Linked DNA regions of Homo sapiens: region 1 is linked to region 2. Evidence: promoter capture Hi-C in 16 types of primary human blood cells and fetal thymus (Javierre and others, 2016). All regions are on one chromosome and are shown on one strand. The core of a region is centred on a gene start or on the middle of the fragment in contact, and the rest is flanking DNA. Distances in the headings are between cores, read along the strand shown. Region 1 overlaps AGTPBP1 (ATP/GTP binding carboxypeptidase 1). Region 2 holds the start of KIF27 (kinesin family member 27).

Evidence for each region. Contacts are between HindIII fragments. The CHiCAGO score rates a contact against its expected background, and 5 or more counts as called.
Region 1: a fragment that was not itself captured here is called in contact with the fragment with the promoter of KIF27 in region 2 in 1 of 17 cell types (monocytes); the score reaches 5.7 in monocytes.

Annotation. Positions count from the first base shown.
Region 1 is chr9:85,562,425-85,565,574 of GRCh38, reverse strand. The region is part of intron 25 of AGTPBP1 (ATP/GTP binding carboxypeptidase 1); the gene reads left to right. Among named protein-coding and RNA genes, the nearest start is that of AGTPBP1, 180 kb to the left of the region's middle. The HindIII fragment of the contact is 1,867 bases long and covers 347-2,213 here.
Region 2 is chr9:83,920,134-83,923,583 of GRCh38, reverse strand. It overlaps KIF27 (kinesin family member 27), which reads left to right and starts at 2,152. Exons shown (of 18, transcript NM_017576.4): 1 at 2,152-2,213. LOC105376335 (serine/arginine repetitive matrix protein 1-like) reads right to left here and starts at 2,683. Exons shown (of 3, transcript XM_011519284.2): 1 at 2,323-2,683; 2 at 1,886-2,230. The coding sequence starts at 2,683. RefSeq lists enhancers at 752-1,256, 1,871-2,620 and silencers at 1,990-2,139, 2,170-2,549. The HindIII fragment of the contact is 5,103 bases long and covers 1-3,450 here.

The DNA.
Region 1 (3,150 bases), core at 31-2,530, 1.6 Mb before region 2:
CCCTGTCCTTTTCTCTTTATTGTCTGTGCTCTTCTGGATCCCTTCTTTGTCCTTGTAATTTTTAATCTATTTCCTGGTCGTAATGTGAAACTGAGGTATCAAGTTAATGAATATAAATTCCCCTAACTTTTTTTTTAGTTGAGTTCACCCTTTCATAATTTTTCAAATCCATCTTTCCCTGCCAGAATTTTGCTTTATTCAACCTGTCTGCAGTGTGGATCGTGTTATTCCACAACTTAGCCCTCAATTCAGTTTTATCCTTCTTGGTTTTAACTATTTCCCGAGATACAGTATCTGTTATAAATTAATTTATTTTCATTTGTAGGCAATGTATATCAAATAAGCTTGAATACTTGCAGCAATAAGAATAAATATTTACATTAAATGTCTTTTTCAACATAAGTAGTAACTCATTGACAGATGTTGTCCTAGTCAGCTCAGGCTGCCATAATGAAATACAATAGGCTGGATGGCTTATAAATGACAGAAATTTATGTCTCACAGTTCTGGAGATTGTGAAGTCCAAGAGCAAGGCAATGGCTGATTTGGTGTTTGGTGAGGGCCTGCTTCCTCATAGGTGGCCTTCTTCTCACTGTAACCTCATGTGACATAAACATTCAGTTCATTACCCTTCATCCCTGTTCCCATCCCAAAATTCATGTCCTTCTCACAAGCAAAATACATCATTTCCATCTCAATAGTCCCAAAATGTTCGCTTATTCCAACATTAACTCAAAAGTTTAAAGTCCAAAGACTCATCTGAATATAGTCATGCATCGTTTAACAATAGGAATACATTCTGAGAAATGTGTTGTTAGGTGATTTCATCATCGTATGAATATCATATAGTGTATTTGTAGTAACCTAGATGGTATAGCCCATTACACACCTCGGCTATATGGTATAGCCTATTGCTCCTAGGCTACAAGCCTGTACAGCATGTGACCGTATGGAATACTATATATAATTGTAACACAATGGGAAGTATTTCTGTATTTGAACATATTTGAATATAGAAAAAGCACAGTAAAAATATGGTATTATAATTGGGACCACTGTCATATATGCATTACATCGTTGACTGAAACATCATTGGAGCATATGACTGTGTCATTTAAATCAGATATGGGTGAGATTCAAGGTATAATTTGTCCTGAGGCAAATTTTCCTTTAGCTGTGAGCCTGTGGAATCAACCAAGTTAGGTGCTTCTAAAATACAATGGTAGGACAAGAACAGGACAGACATTTTTATTCCAAAAAGAAAAAGAAGTGACAATTCTTGAGCATGTCCAAAACCTGAAGGCTTGAAAATGATCTTTAGCTGCATTCTCTGCTCTTCAGGCCCACTGGGGCTGCCGTTCCACCTTCTGGACACACTAGAGTGGAGGCTCCATCCCTGCAGTTTTGCTGGCCATTGGTTGGATCCCTAAGCCTCCAGGCAGTCCTGCCCCCATGGCTTTGCTGGGCCTTGCCCTAGTAGCAGCTCTTTGTGGTGGCCTTGCCCTTGTGGTGGTTCCTTACCTGGGTGTTGTGCCTGTGGCTCCATCCTTCGATATCTAGGTGGAGGTAACCATGCTTCCCAGGCTGGTGAATTCTGGGGCTCAGCAGAGACAGCACACATGGATGCTGCCAAATGCCTGTGCCCTCTGAAGTGGTGACCACTGCATGTGTACCACACCTGGGCCTTCCAGAGCCTCACCTTGTGCTGCAGAGGAGCAGGGTGCCAGACTGCAGGGAGTGGAGTGTGTGAACCTGCAGGCACAGGTGGCTCCTCTTTTGAAACCACTCTGATGATCTCTGAATTGCCTGTCAGGGAGGGTGGTCGTTCTTTTCTTGTCTTGGACAATAGCTCCTGGCTCTGTTTATTTGGCTGACTTTATGCCTTATCAGTTGGTCCTTTTGCTACACCCTTGGTATTCTCTCCTCCCAAACTGTCTTTCTCGTTTGTTACAATATAGACAGGGTGAGAGTTTTCCAAATTTTTAAGTTCTGCTTCCTCTCTCGTGAATGATTCCATCTTTAATTTCTCTTGTCTTGCATTTTACTATAAGCAATCAAGAGAAGCCAAGCCATACCTTCAACAGTTTGCTTAGAAATTTCCTTGGCCAAATATCCTCATTTTCATCTGAGACCTCATCAGAATGGCCTTTACTGTCGTATTTCTACCAACATTCTATCAGGATTATTAAGTATTCTTTAAGAAGTCTGAAGCTTTCTCTATAGCTTTCCTGTTTTCTTTCTGAGCCTCACCAGAATTGCTCTTTATGGGCCATTCACAGCCATGTATCCCTTTTGTAGCAAGCACCTCCATACTCTTACAGCTTTTACTCACTACCCACTTCCAAAACTGCTGCCACATTTTTACATGTTTGTTACAATAGCACCCCCAGTTCTTGGTGTCAGTTTCTGTCTTGGTCTGTTTGAGCTACTGTGACAAAATACCGTACACTGGATACCTTATAAACAGGAGAAATCTATTTCTTACAGTTCTGGAGACAGGGAAGTCCAAGATCAAGGCATCAGCAGATTCAGTGTCTGGGGAGGGCCTTGTTCTTTGATAGACAGTGGTCATCTCACTGTAACCTCATATGGCAGAAGGGTTGAGGGATCTTTATGGGGTCTCTTTTATAAGGGCACTAATCCCATTCAAGAGGGCTCTGCTGTTGTGACCTGATCACCTCCCAAAGGCCCGCCTCCTAATACCATCACCTTGGGAATTAGGATTTCAACATATGAATTGGGATGGGAGGGGGGATGTAAATATTCGCCCAATTTCAGATATTATATAATTACTCTTTACAATACTGTGAACCATCAGGTTTTTTGCATATAACATTTAAGTTTTGTTTAAATAAACTAAGAAAAAGGTAAGAGACTTATTCAAAGTGAATTTGTGATAATTATGAAAAATAAGTTGCCAGTCGTTCCATTTAGTTTCTACACCATTGCTTTGGTGAAAGATAAATTTAGTTTTATAAATAACAATGGAGATTTAAAGATTAGATGTAAATTAAACAGAGCTTAAAACTACTAATCTATAAAATTATTTTAATTGGAAAAGCTTGAAACTTCTGAGTGTGTGAGTTAATATTACAAATTTGACAGAATCTTAACCCTGCTGGTGTTACTATGTATGTAAGCGTAAGCTAT
Region 2 (3,450 bases), core at 903-3,402:
TATTTATTATTTTTTTGAGGTAGAGTCTCATTCTGTCACCCAGGCTGCAATGCCATGGTGCAACAACAGCTCACTGCAGCCTTGACCTCCCAGGCTCAAACCATTCTCTCACCTCCACCTCCAGAGTAACTGGAACTGCAGGCATACTCAGCCACACCTGGCTAAGTTTTGATTTTTTGTAGGGATGGGGGGTCTCATTATGTTGCCCAGGCTGGTCTCAAACTCCTGGGCTCAAGTGACCCTCCCAGTTCAGCCTCCCAAAGTGCTGAGATTACAGGTGTGAGCCACTGTGCCCAGACTGAATTTTTAAAATTTTAAATAATTCAGTTAAAAGAAAAAAAAATAAAAACTATAAATAAAATAGTCAGCTTTTTTCCCCCACCTTCATTCCTATATTTCATGAGAGAAGGAAGGGTTTTTGAAGATGCTTAGATTGTGCTACTAAAAACAGGAGGCATTAAAGCATTTAAAACTAAATTGGTAAAGTTAAATATTACCATACGACCCAGCAATTCCACTCTTACGTCCATACCTAAAAGACCTGAAAACAGGCTCGGCGCGGTGGCTCACGCCTATAATCCCAGCACTTTGGGAGGCCAAGGTGGGCGGATCACCTGAGGTCGGGAGTTCGAGCCCAGCCTGACCAACATGGTGAAACCCCGTCTCTACTAAAAATACAGAAAACTTAGCCAGGCGTGGTGGTGGCACATGCCTGTAATCCCAGCTACTCCAGAGGCTGAGGCAGGAGAATTGCTTGAACCCATGAGGCGGAGCTTGCAGTGAGTTGAGATAGCGCCACTGCACTCCAGCCTGGGCAACAGAGCGAGACTCCATCTCAAAAAAAAAAAAGGAACTGAAAACAGACATCCAAATATTGTATGTGAATGTCCATAGCAGCATGGAAACAGCCCAAATGTCCACCACCAGCTGAAGAATGGATAAACAAAATGTGGTATGTCTATATCCATACAATGGAATTTTTTCAGCCCTAAAAAGTCCTGATAGGGCCGGGCAGGGTGGCTCATGCCTGTAATCCCAGCTACTCCGGAGGCTGAGGCAGGAGAATCGCTTGAACCCATGAGGTGGAGGTTGCGTTGAGCCTAGATGGCGCCATTGCATTCCAGCCTGGGCAATAAGAGCGAAACTCCATCTAAAGGGCCGGGCGTGGTGGCTCACGCCTGTAATCCCAGCACTTTGGAAGGCCGAGGCGGGCAGATCACGAGGTCAGGAGATCAAGACCATCCTGGCTAACACAGTGAAACAAACCCCGTCTCTACTAAAAATACAAAAAATTAGCCGGGCGTGGTGGCACGCGCCTGTAATCCCAGCTACTCGGGAGGCTAAGGCAGGAGAATCGCTTGAACCCGGGAGGTGGAGGTTGCAGAGAGCCGAGATCACGCCACTGCACTCCAGCTTGGGCGACAGAGCGCGACTCGGTCTCAAAAAAAAGAAAAGAAAAAAAAGAAAAGAAGTCCTGATAGATGTTACAACATGACTGCATCTTGAAAACATTAAGCAAAAGAAGCTAGACACAAAAGGTCATATACTGAATGATTCCATCAATAAAGAAATGCCCAGAATAGGTAAAGCTATCACAGAGTCAGAAAGTAGATTAGTGGCTGGCTGGGGTTGTGGGGAGAGGGGAACCAGAAGGAATGACTGCTAACTGGTTTGGGGATTTTCTTTTGGGGTTATGAAAATGTTTCTGAACTATATACAGAGGTGATGGTTGCACAACACTGTGAATGCATTAAACGCCACTGAATTGTGAGTTTTAAGATGGTTTATGTTAGGCAAGTTTTACTCAATAAAAATAAAAATAAACTGAATTGGTAGCTAAGATATTGAAACACGGTGTGGAATCGTTCTCACTCATTTCACGAACCCGTAGAAAGATGCTTGCGCTCAGGCCTCACAGACCGGTCCCAGCGCGTTGGTGGGACACAACTCGGATTTGCAGGCAAGCCCAGGGGCCGGCCCTTTGCGGACTTCCTGGGGACGCAGGACTCCTGCGCGGCGGGCTTGGAGGCGTGGCCAGGATGGGGGCGGGGCCAGGACGCGGCATCCAGGAGAGGACGCGGCGGGAGGCGGGCTTCGCCGGTTGCCAGGAGAACTCGCGACAACAAAAGACGCGGACGGCGGCTGCGCGGTGTGGCAGAGCGAAGCTGAGGAGTCCAGCGCTCGCCGACAGGGGCCTGGGCTGTCCCGAGCCGGTCAGTGCTCGGCGGGCCTGGCGGGCGGTGCGGGGAAGTGGGGCGCCCTCCCTTCGCGGTGCCCGCCCTCCAGCCCGCCGCGCCCGCCGCTCCCGCGCCCCCAGCCGGCCGTTGGGACTAGTAGGCTCCGGCTTGGGGTCGGGGCCGCCGCGGGTGGGTAGCGGAGGGTGGGCGGTTGGGGCGCCAGCTAGGCCTATGGGGGCGTCCGAGGGGTCTGGGGTCGGGGCTGGGAGCCGGCGAGCGACTAGAGGCAGAGCGCCCCTTCCGGAGGAAGTTGGGTCAGCCCTGAGGAGCGGGTCCCGGGGAACACCGATCGACCGGAACGCGGGACCCGGCCTTTCAGAGCGCACCCTGTGTTCGTCTCGTGTCGCTGCACGGCGTGAGGTGCGACGCGAGGGCCACCACCACCGAGCGCTTTGTTTTATCGCAGGCGTCTTTTTCCCACCGTAGAGGTTGAAACTTGGGCGCATTTCCCACCGTAGAGGTTGAAACTTGGGCGCATTTCCCACCGTAGAGGTTGAAACTTGGGCGCATTTCCTACCGTAGAGGTTGAACCTTGGGCACATTCAAGCCCGAGAGCTCCCTCCCTCGGAGGCAGGTGACTATAAAGAGCAAAGCGCCCAGATTCTTTCTTTGAAACACCTTTTAAGTAACACCTTTTAAGTCTCCAGTGTTGAAAATCCTTGTTGTTTGCCCTTCTTTACTCTTTTGTCGTCTTTACGCATTTGGGGCCTTTTCTGAGCTCCGTATGCGATTTACTGTCCATCTACTGGCAAGTTTTTTATGAAAATAATTAACAAACCACACATTTAAGACAACCACTGCTTTCTGGGAAATCAAGGGTACGGGATGGCAACGGTTTTTGGAGACACTCATTCCTGACCAGTGACATGACATGAGGGATTCAATATTTCTCTTGCCTTTGCTCAGATTTCAAAAACCCGTTGAGTATACTTAAATACGACCAATCAGATTTTGCTTTTTTTTAAATCATTTATTGGCAACATAATACGTATGTTTCTGATGACTATAATTGATCAGAATCTGAAGTATAAGTGCTATGGATTGTGTAAAAACTTTATTTCTTGTATATTGATGTTTTACAAGCCCTATGTTTGTGGACCATTACTATTGTTTGTTTGTTTTGTTTTGAGACAGGGTCTCGCTCTGTTACTCAGGCTGGAGTGCAGTGGCACACTGCAGCCTCAACCTCCCGGGCTCAAGCGATCCTCCAATC